5 separate regions of the Homo sapiens genome follow, and regions 1, 2, 4 and 5 are each linked to region 3. Evidence: promoter capture Hi-C in human tissues and cell types (Jung and others, 2019). All regions are on one chromosome and are shown on one strand. The core of a region is centred on a gene start or on the middle of the fragment in contact, and the rest is flanking DNA. Distances in the headings are between cores, read along the strand shown. Region 1 overlaps NPLOC4 (NPL4 homolog, ubiquitin recognition factor). Region 2 overlaps LOC124904077 (translation initiation factor IF-2-like). Region 3 holds the start of SLC38A10 (solute carrier family 38 member 10). Region 4 holds the start of NPLOC4 (NPL4 homolog, ubiquitin recognition factor). Region 5 overlaps NPLOC4 (NPL4 homolog, ubiquitin recognition factor).

Region 1 (2,700 bases), core at 102-2,601, 280 kb after region 3:
CTCACAGTTCAGCATGGCTGGGGAGCCCTCAGGAAACTTACAAGCATGACAGGAGGGGAAGGGGAAGCAAGGCACCTTCTTCACAAGGTGGCAGGAAAGAGAAGTGCCGAGCAAAGGGGGAAGAGCCCCTTATAAATCTAACACATCTTGTGAGAATGCACTCACTATCACTGAGAACAGGATGGGGGAACCACCCCCATGATTCAATTATCTCCACCTCATCTCTCCTTGACACCTGGGGATTGTGAGTCAAGATGAGGTGTGGGTGTGGACACAAAGCCTATCCATATCACAAAGGGTGCTAGGGGGCGTCCATTTTCTTCTTACCAATCTACAATATTTAATTTTTTCATAATAAACATACATTTCATTTCATATTTAAAATGTTCCATATTTATTTATTTAGAGACAGGGTCTCACTATGTTGCCCAGGCAGGAGTGTAGTGGTGCAATCAAAGCTCACTGCAGCCTCGAACTCCTGGGCTCAAGCGATCCTCCTGCCTCAGCCTACTGAGTACCTGGGGCCACAGGTGCACACAGCATAGACTGCATGCATTACTGTTTAGCGTGGTGGCTCACGCCTGTAGTTCTAGCACTTTGGGAGGCAAGGCAGGTGGATTACTTAAGGTCAAGAGTTTGAGACCAGCCTGGCCAACATGGCAAAACCCCTCTCTACTAAAAATACAAAAAAGAAATTAGCTGGGCGTGGTGGTGGGCGCCTGTAATCCCAAGTACCTGGGAAGCTGTGGCAGGAGAACTGCTTGAACCAGGGAGGCGGAGATTGCAGTGAGCCAAGATCGTGCCATTGCACATCACCCTAGGTGACAGAGCGAGACTCCATCTCAAAAATAAATAGACTTCGAGCTGTCTGATGCATGTGGATCTTTAGATTTGAGACCCTCCTGCTGCCAGCCTCTCCCTCCTACCTGGACAACACCCCCTTCACAAGTTCCTGGTCTAAAAGGTGGTCTCCACTCCAGCCTCCCCCTTCAGCTGACCCTGTGGCTTCCTGTGAGCAAGCTGATCCCCAAACCTGCATCCCATCGCTCCTGCCAGCTCCACCCACCTCTGCCTCCCATCCTCATTGTACTGACCTGTCTCCAGATGCCCCAAAGCTGTCCCTGACACACGGACCATGCCCCTTCCTCTCTGTGTGCCAATTAGCTCCTTTGCTGGACACCAGGAAGCAGTACATGCCCATGTCAGTATTTCCCTTACGTTAATAAAAACCCAAACAAGAAAACTTCTCAATCCCACTTCCCATACTGGTGACTGTCCTTTGCTCTCCCTGGCAGTGAAACCCCCCGAAAGAGTCATGCAGCTTGCTGATGTGAGCTCACCCCCCATTCTCCTCTGTGAGCTCACCCCCCATTCTCCTCTGTGAGCTCACTCTCGGCAGCCGCTTATCTACTACTCAGCCAGGCTCATCAAAGCTCCCAACACCCCTGAGCTGCTGAAGGCAAAGCCTCCTCTCCTGACTCACCAGGGAGCTCCTTTCTTGCCTGCCTTCCAGGGCGCTATGCTCCTGCCCCTCCTCCCCAGCTCCTGCCTCCCAGTGCTCTCCACCTCATTCCCCCAAGGTGGGGTTCTCCTCAGCCATCCCCTCCAGGATGGACAACTCGGCCTCTCACCAGGCCTCAAGCACCACCCCAACACCATCTGTACCATGTGCCTCTCCCAAGCAATGCGCTCACCCCGGGTGGTGCCTCTGCACTAGCACATCGCCGACAGATCCCCAGCCTTCCAGCCTGGCCTGGACACCCTGGAGTCTGCCTGCCTCTTCTCTCGATCACACCACACACTCAACCCCCTCACTACTGCACAGCCATCTCTACTCTCTACCCTAGTCTCCTTTTCCAGCTCCGAGCCCAGCAGCCAGAGTGATCGTCTCACAGCCCCGGCACAGCCATCTCCCTTCAGCACCTTTCAGAAGCCCTCATCTCACTTCCAACCATAGATTCAGCTTCCAAGGGCCCCTCCCACCTCTACCCCAGCAGGCCACCCTGCTTATCACTCTCTGTGTGGGGAACAGGCTGCTGCCTCTGTCTGAACAATCTCCTCCAGACACCCCCAGAGCTGCTCTGCCAATTGACACCTTCTCTCCCCTCTCAGGACTCGACCCACCAGGGCACTCCAAGCTTCTCTACCCGTTCCGCTGGGGTGGCCCACCTCCCCTGCTGCAGCAGTCTCCCCGATGCAGGGAGCCCTTCTCCATTCTCCATGAACTCCAGGGCCTGGCAATTCACAGGTGTTCTCTAAACATGAGAGAATGGATGCCGTGAGAGCATCGCACAGTGAATCAGGTCAGTGCTACCAAGGGCTTGGCCACCCAAACACAACAGCTCTCGCTCCCCGCTCAGCTCTGAAGGGCCCAGGGCCAGCCTCCCATGCCCACAGCTGGGGGCCTGGGAGAGACATGGCATGGAAGTACAAAATCCCCAGTGGCCCTGGGCCAGCCCACCCGTGGGCTTATGCCCGTCAGACTATTTCCTCATGGCTGAAGGAGAAGAAAATAGAGATTTTAAAACACAGTAAGGCTGGAAGCGGTGGCTCACACCTTAATCCCAGCACTCTGGGAGGCCAAGGCGGGTGGATGACCTGAGGTCAGGAGTTTGAGACCAGCCTGGCCAACATGGCGAAACCCTGTCGCTACTAAAAATACAAAAAAATTAGCCAGGCATGGTGGCAGGTGCCTGTAAT
Region 2 (2,700 bases), core at 4-2,503, 280 kb before region 3:
AGAGACTAGTCTCCTTTCCAAATAAGGAAAGGAATGTGAGCTGGTACTGATAAGCCTGGTCCTGTGGCGTGTCCAGGCATCTAACAAAGGCAGAAAAGAGAAAAAGGAAAAAGGGGTGGGGGAGGTACTATGAATTAAGGAAGAAAGGATTGATCAGGCTATTTGAAGAGAAACCTCATCATATCCCACATCTACTAAAACTACAAAAATGAGCCGGGTGTGGTGGAGGGCACCTGTAATCCCAGCTACTCGGGAGGCTGAGGCAGGAAAATCACTTGAACCTGGGAGGCGGAGGTTGCAGTGAACCAAGATCACACCACTGCACTCCAGTCTGGCGACAGAATGAGACTTTGTCCGCCACGCAAAAAAAAAAAAAAAGTTTGGAAAATGCGCAGCCTGGCCATGTGGCAGAGAAAGGAAAAGCTTTTTCAGGAGAGGAATTCAAGCAGAGTGTGGAGGAACCACTTCTTAGAGATATTTGCGTGTTTGAAAATGAGCCGAGAGGTGATGACCAAGCCAATGGAATGATGACCTTCATGACAGCCCCTCCCATCACAGGCCCTGAGGCCTAGGGGAACGAAATGGTTTTGTGGGCCAGGCCCAGGGCCCCACTTCCCTATACAGCCTCAGGGCAGTGCTCCCCATATGGCATCCCAGCAGCTCCAGCTCCAGCCTCAGCTCACAGGGGCCCAGGTACAGCTCAGGCTGCCACTTTGGAGGTTGCAAGCTGTAAGCCTTGACAGCTTTCACATGGCATTAAGCCTGTGGGTGCGCAGAATGCAAGAGTGAAGGCTTGGCAGCCTCTGTCTCGATTTCAGAGGATGTATGAGAAAGCCCAAGTTCCCAGGCAGATGCCTGCTGCGGGGGGCAGAGCCCCCACAGAGAACCTTTACTAGGGCAGTGCCAAGGAGCAATGTCCACAAATCCCCAAAATCCCATCTGACTAATTGAGAGAGTTGGAGCCCCCACACAGAGTCCCCGCTGGGGCACTGCCTAGTGGAGTTGCGAGAAGGGGCCACTGCCCTCCAGAATTCAGAACGGCAAAGTCATCAGCAGCTTGCACCCTGCGGTTTCACAAGCACTCAACAACCTGTGAGAGCAGCGTTAGGGATGGAACCTGCAAAGCCCCGAGGGCGGAGCTGCCCAAGGCCTTGGGAGCCCACCCCTGGCACCAGTGTGCCCTGGATGTGGAGCATGGAGTCAAAGGAGATTGTTTTGGAGCTTTCAGATTTAACACCTGCCCTGCTGGGTTTGGAACTTCCATGGGACCTGTAGTCCCTTTCATTTGGCTGATTTCTTCCTTTTGGAATGACAGTACTTACCCAGTGCCTATATTCCTATTGTGTCTTGGAAGTAAATTACTTGTATTTTGTTTTACAGTCTCATTGGTGGAAGGGACATGCCTTGTCTCGGGGGAGACTTTGGACTTTTGAGTTAACGCTGGAATCAGTTAAGATTTTGGGGGATTCTTGGGAAGGCATGATAGTATTTTGCAATGTAGGAAGGACGTGAGATTTGGGAGGGGTCCCGGGTGGAATGATATAGTTTGGATATTTGTCCTCACCCAAATCTCATGTTGAATTGTAATCTCCAGTGTTGGAGGTGGGGCCTGGTGGGAGGTGTTTGGGTCATGGGAGCTTGGGCCATCCCTTGGTGATAAGTGAGCTGTCTCTCTGAGTTCACACGAGATCTGGTCATTTACAAGTGTGTGGCACCTCCCCCATCCCCCCACTTGCTCCTGCCTTTGCCATGTGATGTCCCTCCTCCTGCTTTGCCTTTGACCATGATTGGAAGCCTCCTGGGGCCTCTCCAGAAGCAGATGCCGCTGTGCTTCCTGTACAGCCTGCTGAACCACGAACCAATAAGCCTTTCTTTATAAATGACCCCGTCTCAGGTATTTCTTTATAGCAGTGCAAGAATGACCTAATACAAAAAGACAATCAACAGGCCGGGAGTGATGGCTCATTCCTGTAATCCCAGCACTTTGGGAGGCTGAGGCAGGCAGATCACTTGAGGTCAGGAGTTCAAGACCAGCCTGGTCAACATGGTGAAACCCCATCTCTACTAAAAATACAAAAATTAGTCGGGCATGGTGGCGTGCACCTGTAATCCCAGCTACTCAGGAGGCTGAGGCAGGAGAATCACTTGAACCCAGGATGGGGAGGTTGCAGTGAGCCAAGATCACACCACTGCACTCTAGCCTGGGCAGCAGAGCCAGACTGCATCTCAGAACAAACAAGTAAAAGGATGGGGAAAATATATCACAGAAACCCTAATCAAAAGAAAGATGGAGTAGTTGTGTTAATATCAGGCAATGTATATTCAAAACAAATATCAACAGGGATAATGAGAGACATTACTCAATAATAAAAGAAGGCAAAACAATCCAAATTGTGTATTCACCTAACAATAGAATTTCAAAACACATGAAGCAAAAACTAACAGAAATGAAAGGTAAAACAATTTCTTACAGTTAGAGACTTTCACCCTCCTCTTTCAGTATTTTGTTGTTGTTTTTAGTCAGGGTCTTGCTCTGTCACCCACGCTGGAGTGCAGTGGCACAAACATGGCTCACTGAAGCTTCAACCTCCTGGGCTCAAGTGATCCTTCTGCCTCAGCCTCCCGAGCAGCTGGGACTATAGGTACATGCCACCACACCTAGCTAATTTTTTTTTTTTTTGAGACAGAGTCTCGCTCTGT
Region 3 (2,700 bases), core at 171-2,670:
CAGATGACACTTAGAAATGGCCATTTTCTTTCATGTGTTATTCAATGCTGGAATGACGCTAAACTTTTTGTATTTGAGATTTTTTCCAACTGTGGTAACGTCTGCACACATTAGATCAAATGTGCAGTTTTTTGTTTTTGTTTTTGAGACGGAGTCTCCCTCTGTCGCCCAGGCTGGAGTGCAATGGCGTGATCTCGGCTCACTGCAACCTTCGGCTCATTGAAACCTTCGCCTCCCAGGTTCAAGCTATTCTCCTGTCTCAGCCTCCCAAGTATCTGGGATTACAGGCATGTGCCACCACCCCCGGCTAATTTTTGTATTTTCAGTAGAGATGGGGTTTCAGCATGTTGGTCAGGCAGTTCTCGAACTCCTGACCTCAGGTGATCCACTCGCCTCGGCCTCCCAAAGTGCTGGGATTACAGGTGTGAGCCACCACCCCCTGCCAAATGTGCGGTTTTTGTGAAACGCAGATCTTAGGTGTATAACCTGGTGGATGTTTTTAATCACCTTGCAACCAAGGTCCCTATCTAGTGTCGAAGCCTGGGAGTGGTGAGTTGTGTGCTTCTGAAGACAGGTGCAGTTGGGTCAGAGTTTTTAAAAACACGATAAAATGTAAAAATACGGAGTCCCACCGTTCCCTTCCGATTCTGGAGGATCATTTTGCTTTGTTACACTTTGCTTCGGTATCGAGTTTTTGAGTGTGGGGAACTTTCCGGCCCGGGCTGACAAGGGCTGCCAGGGCCAACGCCGTGCGCTTCTCATCCACGGATTCTCTACGGGAACTGCGCCGGGACCCAGAGGGTCGCCCCGCCCGCGGCCGCCTGCACCCGCCCAGCGAAGCCCTGCCCCGGCGGGAACTTTAACCAGGACGACCCAGCCAGACGCCCCCTCTGCGGGGGAGGCGAGGGCGGTGATCTCCGGGCCCACCGGACTCACCTGTTTGAAGCAGAAGGGCATGGTGAGGACACTGACCCCTACGATGCTGTTCACGATGTTCGTGATCAGCCCCCAGTTGGAGGCGGCGGCCGCGGTCATAGTGAGAGGTCTAGGGGCCCGGGGCGAGAGGCCTCGGGGGTCGCCGGGCTGCGGCCGGCTTTGGAAGCCCAGCCCGAGGCCACGGTCACAGGTCCCAACGTCCGGGACGCCGGTGGGGAGGGGATGGGCAGCCTGAACACGGGAGCCTGAGCAGGCGCGGGCGCGGGCCCCAGAGGCTGCCTGGAGGAGGCAGCCTCGAAGGCCGGCTGCGGGGGCGAGGTCAACCTCCGGACCCCGCCAAGCCCTGCGGCCGCCTCAGGGCCATGCGTCCCTCGCTCGGCCTCGCGGGCCGCCTGTGAATCTCCGAGCCCAGACCCGGAAGAGCCGCAGAGCCAGCTAGGGACACCTCAGCCCAACTCAGCTGCCGCCGCGGCGCTCACACTTCCGCCTTCCACGGGCTCCGTTGCCCGGAAGTGACGGCCAGGGGGTAGGGTTTGGTGGGACGCGAGCCAATGAGAGGCGGGCCCGGAGGGGCGGGCGGAAACTGGGCCGGTGGGCACCTGAGGGTCTCGCAGCTGTCCGGTTCGCCAAGCTGGTCCAGCCGACCTGTGCCCGGGGCCCCAGTTCAACGAGCTGGAGGACAAGGGACTCGCCCCGCGAGGCCTCGGTTTGGATGGGCAGTCGCGGGCTGGAGAGAAGGGGAGGCGCTGTGCCTTCCGGGGAGGAGCGGGTTTAAGGGTTCCTTTTTGACCTTTATTCCCAGGACCGATTCTGGGGCGAGTGCTTGGCGCCAGGGCACGGGGGCGGGGGCCCTGACTGCCTCAGCCGAAAAATAGTCTGTTGTGAGGAATTAGCACCTAGGAGGTAGGAATGAAACGCTGGGCACAGAGAGGCTCGGCCACTCCGCTAAGGCCACACAGCTCCAAGGGGAGGCGGTGCCCTGCCGAACTGCGCCCAGATCAGTGGCAATGTTGAACTTCACCTTTTCACACGAAAAGAGCAAGGGACATTCCTGGAGGGGACAGGAGAGGTGGAGGCTTACATGAACAGGGAAACCCGGGAGGGCTTCCAGAAGGAGGTGGCTTCTAGGCTGGAGCTTGAAGGACAAATGAGAATTCCTCGGGTAGAAATGGAGACCGGGGAGAGGAGAGAACAGAGAAGGGTCCCGATAGATCTGTGGATTCCTGGCACCTAGCTGCTCACTCTGAGTCTAATGAATGAGCGCGTAGACCGAATGGCTGGGAAGCAGCAAGTGATTCCAGGCTGCTGGGGGAGGACGGCGGAGGAAAGGAGGCCGTGTCTGCAGCACCTGCAGGACCAGGTGTCTTAGAACAGAGGCCCGTTCCTCAGGCACTGGCAGTGCAGCCACCAAGTAAGGCTGTGCCCCACCTTCAGGAGAACAGGAGGAAATGCCTGGGTAAAGACTAATTAAATACGCAGGCAAAATAACAAATGCCTGCGTTCTTTTTTTTTTTTTTCTTCAGTCAGAGTCTTGCTCTGTCGCCCAGGCTGTATATGCAGTGGTGTGATCTTGGCTCACTGCAACCTCCACCTCCCAGGTTCAAGCTATTCTCATGCCTCAGCCTCCCAAGTAGCTGGAATTACAGGCTCCCGCCACCACACCCGGCTAATTTTTGTATTTTTAGTAGAGACCAGGTTTCACCATGGTGGCCAGGCTTGCCTCAAACTCCCGACCTCAGGTGATCCGCCCACCTCGGCCTCCCA
Region 4 (2,700 bases), core at 96-2,595, 340 kb after region 3:
TGAACATTACTCTTCACCCAATACTGCTAAGCTTCCCCCAGAAATCCCAAATCTTCCTTAATATTAACCAAAATGCTCCTGTCCAATGGTCAGTTAGTTTTTTTCCCATCACATTTACTTTTGGGAAGAAACTTCTCACAACTTAACGAGGGACTGGTTTTCTGATTTGTCACTGATATTTTTTACGTTAAGGAGGAGTGTGTGACAATTTTTTTTTTTTTTTTGAGACGCAGTCTCGCTCTATAGCCCAGGCTGGAGTGCCATGGAGGGATCTCAGCTCACTGTAACCTCCACCTCCCGCGTTCAAGCAATTCTCCTGCCTCAGCCTCCCAAGTATCTGGGATTACAGTGCGCCATGACGCCCGGCTAATTTTTTGTATTTTTAGTAGAGACAAGATTTTGCCATGTTGGCCAGGATGGTCTCGAACTCCTGACCCCAGGTGATCCACCCGCCTCGGCCTCCCAAAGTGCTGACATCACAGGCGTGAGCCACTGCGCCGGGCCGACAATTTCAATTTCAGGTAAAAAGTGAAATCAACATCATTTACAACATTCCTTTTAAAGAGGAATTGTCAAGTTGTCCTTCCAAGTAAGGAGCAAAGCCGGCAAGTTACTGTGTTTTCATTTTCCCAGGTCTTCTGGTGGGGAGGGAGCTCTGTAACGTCCCCGTCTGCAGAGCTGCTCTCCTTAGTGACTCATGACAAGGCACTTGCTGGGAAGCGGGAGAGCAGGAGGAGAGAATCAGAGGGAGATTAGGATAAGAGGTGTCCCTGGCTCTGAGAGGGGCAGGACTGGCTGGGAGTCCCTGGAATTAGACCAGGAAGTCTCCTGGAGCCGGGAAACGGGTGGGGAAGGAGGGCGGTTTCTCTTCGCCACAGTCCATTCTCCCTGCTTAGAAAGGCTCGGCCTTTCCCTGCCCAGGGCGGGGAACCGGGGTCGTAAGTCCCCTGGGGAGGGACACGGACGGGAAGCAGCCGAGGGGGGTGAAAGTCCCCGAGAGGGGCCCAGCCACTACAGAGAAAGCCCTGGCGAGAGAAGAGAAAGGGGCCGAGTCGCGGCGCCGGCAGGCCCGCCTCCCCCACAGGCCGAGGCCGGCAAATCTGCTGCCTCATCCCGGCGTCCCCGCTCCCGCCCGGCCGCCGCACTCACGATGCTCTCGGCCATGGCGGCTGCTCCTGCCTCCGGGCTCGAGCCCCGGGCCGCCGCCGCCTGCCGCCCCAAGGGCCTCGCAGACCCGGCCGCGGCCTCAGCCCCGGCCCCGGCCTCCCTACGCCGCCGCCACCGCCGCTCCAGCTTCGCCCGCCCGGCTCCGCCAGCCGCCGACGTCCCGGTGCCTCGCTCAATACGCTCCCCTCGGGCGCGAGGCCGGGAAACCAGGTTCCGGCCCCACCAACGGCTCGACGCATGCGCAGGGCGGCGCCGCTGACCCGCCCCCGCCATCCCTGCAACTGGAGGAGGGGATTTTGGAAAGTTGCGTCTGAGATTACTTCTGCTCGTCCTCGGAAACCCAAGCGGCACAGGAAAGTCCAAAAAGGAAGCAAAGACGAGCATCCGAAGTCTCACCCAAAAATAACTACTGCTGCGTATTATAGCGTATTATAATTGGGGAAACAGCATTCCAAACTTCTCTCCATGCACAGGTAAGTAGAGAAACAATTTCAGGAAGGCAGGATCACACCTTCATGTTTTTTTTTTTAAGTATTTTTTAAATTTAACATAAGAAAAACAAACGAGTTTAAACTGCATTTCAGGCCGGGCGCGGTGGCTCATACCTGTAATCCCAGCATTTTGGGAAGCCAAGGTGGACGGATCACCTGAGGTCAAAAGTTCGAGACCAGCCTGGCCAAAATGGTGAAACCCCGTCTCTACTCAAAATACAAAATTAGGCCATACGCGGTGGCTCACGCCTGTAATCCCAGCACTTTGGGAGGCCGAGGCAGGTGGATCACCTGAGGTCAGGAGTTCAAGACCAGCCTGACCAACGTGGTGAAACCCCGTCTCTACTAAAAATACAAAAATTAACTGGGCGTGGTGGCGGGCACCTGTAATCCCAGCTACTCGGGAGTCTGAGGCCGGAGAATCTCTTGAAGCGAAGAGGCGGAGGTTAGAATGAACTGAGTTGGTGCCACTGCACTCCAGTCTGGGCGACAGAGTGAGACTTCATCTCAAAAAAAAAAAAAAAAGACGTCACTTCACAGATTCTAAGGATTTTTGGAGTTGGATACCAGGAAACCGGAAGACTAAATGTATACATATTTCACAACATCACAATTACTGTGACAGTTTTTTTAAACTATGTTAAATTACATTAATTGATTAAATTATGTTAGTAATTGTATTAGTTTGCTCAGGGTGCCACTGTAACTACCCAACATATTGTCCCTGCCCACTGCCTAGACTTTATCAAGACAGGGGAATTGCAATAAAGAGTTTAATTCACACAGAGCCAGCTTGTACAGGTTACTGAGGTTTTATTACTACTCAAAAAAAATTAGTGTCCTTGAGAATTCAGGGATCAGAGTTTTTTGTTTTTTGTTTTTTTTTGTTTTTGAGTCCGAATCTCACTCTGTCACCCACACTGGAGTGCAGTGGCGCGATCTCGGCTCACTGCAACCTTCACCTCCTGGGTTCCAGTGATTCTCCTGCCTCAGCCTCCCGGGTAGCTGGGACTACAGGCGCACACTACCATGCCTGGCTAAT
Region 5 (2,700 bases), core at 43-2,542, 310 kb after region 3:
GAGAACTATAGCCACAGATAAAACACATGCGACACGCCTCCCGGCTTCTCTCCTTCTCGGGTTGTGCTGCACCTTTTACCAGGGCTGCAAAACATGTGGCATGCAGGGCCCAGCTGATGTGTGCTGCACAGCTCTGCATCAGGAGCACTCAGGACTAAGGCAAGGCAAGGTCTACACACTCTGCCTGTTTTAAAAGTTCCTTCATCAGGGAATTAAGTTACTTTCAAACTTCCTTGGATAAGTAGCTTCACTCCAAACAGGTTTGGCTAAATTAGGCAAGACTCAAACTGTAAGGTAACATCCATTCCCACAAAACAGCCTTGGAAAATCTGTGTGCCACTCCTGCAGAGACAATGCTTGGCTTCACAGCTAAGATACTCAGTTACAGGGACACTATGAACTCCACAGAGAGCGATGAGCTCACCAACCCTAAGGAAGGGAAAAGGTGTTCAAAAATCAACCACCTCCTTTCATCTGGCACAGGGCAGTCGATGAGTTGTAGCTTCGACTGGCTCCCATGCAACTGAAACCAACCACAGCACATCACTTCCCAGAGTGGACCAAGCTTACCGAAATCATTAATGTTCACTTAAATGTAGCTTGCGGGTCATTCAAAGGTATCATTCTATGCAGAAACCCCAGCCATAAGAATAGGAAAGGTAAAGGTAATCTCAAATTGAGTTACAGTAACTGGGCATATCCTTGTAAATTAGTGAAAATCTGGCAAACCACAAAGAAGTTTACGTTTGCTGGGTATTACCCATATGGAGGTCATTAATACCTCCAGAACGTAGGTTAAATCACAAACTCAGAGAAAAAGCTAAGGAAAAGGAGTTGTTTAATGACATGTGGCAGCATAAGCTGCATAAGCAAATTTTTGTGTGTGTATTTTTAGTAGAAACGGGGTTTTGCCATGTCAGCCAGGCTAGTCTTGAACTCCTGGCCTCAAGTGATCTGCCTTGCCCCTACAAAGTGCTGGGATTATAGATGTGAGCCACCACGGCTGGCCTCAATTATACTTTTAATAGAACCGTTGAGCTCTCCATGAAAGAGACCCTTTAAAAAAACTGAATCTGAATACTGTGTGCTTCGAAAAGCAGCATCCTGAGTACAGCACAGTGACCTAAGGGTTGAGACTTCACTGGCGGGGTCTCTACTGCCATCTAGTGTCTCTTTTTAAAAGAACCATGGCAAAGGCCTCATGAAACACTACATCTATTGCTATACAAAGATACCAAAAATGTCACTGAAAATCCGTATAAATACAGCCAAGAAAGACACACATTTGTGCAGGGGCCACTAGCAAGCCTGTACACCAGCTGTTACCCATGCATAGCCTGCAGTTTCAGACTCTGATCAGCAAACTCTGAAAGCAGCTGCAGGGCACCCCAGCCTGCCTCCCAGGCAGGTTATCTAAATAGGAGGCTAGCCATCCGGTGATCTCCACAAGACAGTGTTAGGTGGAAAAAGTGCACATATTATACGTACAAAGAAACAAAGAAGGGGGATAGTATGAATGTGCGTGCATGCATGCGTGTGTGTATGTGCTTACACTAAAAATGTCACATACAAAAAAAACAAAACTAGCCAGGCTCAGTGGCATACACCGATAGTCCCAGCTACTTGGGAGAAAGAGGTAAGAGGATCTCGCTCAGGAGCGAGACCTTGTTTCAAAACAAAACAAAACAAACAAACAAACAAACAAAAAACAAACTTTTGCCAAGCACAATGGCTTATGCTGGTAATTCTAGTACTTTAGGAGGCCAAGGCAGTAGGATCACTTGAGGCCAGGAGTTTGAGACCAGCGTGGGCCACACAGAGACCCTCCCTGTATAAAAAAAAAAATTAAACAATTAAACAATTAAAAAAAAATCAGGCCGGGCGCAGTGGCTCACGCCTATAATCCCAACACTTTGTGAGGCTGAGGCGGGTGGATCACGAGGTCAGGAGTTTGAGACCAGCCTGACCAACATGGTGAAACCCTGTCTCTACTAAAATTACAAAAATTAGCCAGGCGTGGTGGCGGCACCTGTAATCCCCGCTATTCAGGAGGCTGAGGCAGGAGAATCACTTGAACCCGGAAGGCGGAGGTTGAAGTGAGTGGAGATCATGCCACTGCACTCCAGCCTGGGTGACAGAGTAAAACTCCGTCTCAAAATTAAAAAAAAAAAAAAAAATCAAACTTCAGGAAGTCCAACTAAAAAGATTTAGGCTGAGCATGGTGGCTTATGCTTGTAATCCCAGAATTTTGGTAGGCTGAGGCGAGTGAACTGTGTGAGCCCAGGAGTTCCAGACAAGCCTGGGTAACATGGCGAGATCTGTCTCCACACACACTATATATGTATATACACATACATACATATATATGTATATATACACACACACATATATATATACACACACATATATATACACACATATATATACACAAATACACACACACACACACACACACACACACACACACATATAAAAGTCAGACATGGTGGTGCACGCCTGTAGTCCCAGACACTTGGGAGGCTGAGGCAGGAGGATTGCTTGAGCCCAAGAGGGCTGCAATTGAGGCTGCATTGAGCCATGATGGCAGTACTGCACTCCAGCCTGAGCAACAGAGTGAGACGCTGTCTCAAAAAGAAAAAGGTTTTAAATTCTAGGGGCTACCTATAAAGGAAAGCAGGGTAAAAGGAAATGAATATACCT

Evidence for each region. Contacts are between HindIII fragments. The study calls those that stand out against the background at their distance.
Region 1: a fragment that was not itself captured here is called in contact with the fragment with the promoter of SLC38A10 in region 3 in 3 of the 25 tissues and cell types used here (IMR-90 fibroblasts, dorsolateral prefrontal cortex and liver).
Region 2: a fragment that was not itself captured here is called in contact with the fragment with the promoter of SLC38A10 in region 3 in 1 of the 25 tissues and cell types used here (dorsolateral prefrontal cortex).
Region 4: the fragment with the promoter of NPLOC4 here is called in contact with the fragment with the promoter of SLC38A10 in region 3 in 6 of the 25 tissues and cell types used here (bladder, dorsolateral prefrontal cortex, liver and 3 more).
Region 5: a contact is called between a fragment that was not itself captured here and the fragment with the promoter of SLC38A10 in region 3, in 2 of the 25 tissues and cell types used here (dorsolateral prefrontal cortex and liver).

Annotation. Positions count from the first base shown.
Region 1 is chr17:81,578,534-81,581,233 of GRCh38, forward strand. All of the region lies in intron 12 of NPLOC4 (NPL4 homolog, ubiquitin recognition factor), which reads right to left. Among named protein-coding and RNA genes, the nearest start is that of FAAP100, 28 kb to the left of the region's middle. The HindIII fragment of the contact is 4,699 bases long and covers 1-2,700 here.
Region 2 is chr17:81,012,135-81,014,834 of GRCh38, forward strand. It overlaps LOC124904077 (translation initiation factor IF-2-like), which reads left to right. Exons shown (of 1, transcript XM_047437254.1): 1 at 1-1,883. Among named protein-coding and RNA genes, the nearest start is that of BAIAP2-DT, 21 kb to the right of the region's middle. The HindIII fragment of the contact is 3,807 bases long and covers 1-2,700 here.
Region 3 is chr17:81,293,887-81,296,586 of GRCh38, forward strand. SLC38A10 (solute carrier family 38 member 10) reads right to left here and starts at 1,421. Exons shown (of 16, transcript NM_001037984.3): 1 at 937-1,421. The coding sequence starts at 1,035. RefSeq lists silencers at 897-966, 1,067-1,336 and an enhancer at 1,997-2,086. The HindIII fragment of the contact is 25,998 bases long and covers 1-2,700 here.
Region 4 is chr17:81,635,767-81,638,466 of GRCh38, forward strand. It overlaps NPLOC4 (NPL4 homolog, ubiquitin recognition factor), which reads right to left and starts at 1,346. Exons shown (of 17, transcript NM_017921.4): 1 at 1,150-1,346. The coding sequence starts at 1,164. TSPAN10 (tetraspanin 10) reads left to right here and starts at 1,430. Exons shown (of 4, transcript NM_001290212.2): 1 at 1,430-1,640. RefSeq lists a silencer at 1,076-1,285. The HindIII fragment of the contact is 41,196 bases long and covers 1-2,700 here.
Region 5 is chr17:81,600,548-81,603,247 of GRCh38, forward strand. All of the region lies in intron 8 of NPLOC4 (NPL4 homolog, ubiquitin recognition factor), which reads right to left. Among named protein-coding and RNA genes, the nearest start is that of NPLOC4, 35 kb to the right of the region's middle. RefSeq lists an enhancer at 879-1,038. The HindIII fragment of the contact is 4,537 bases long and covers 1-2,700 here.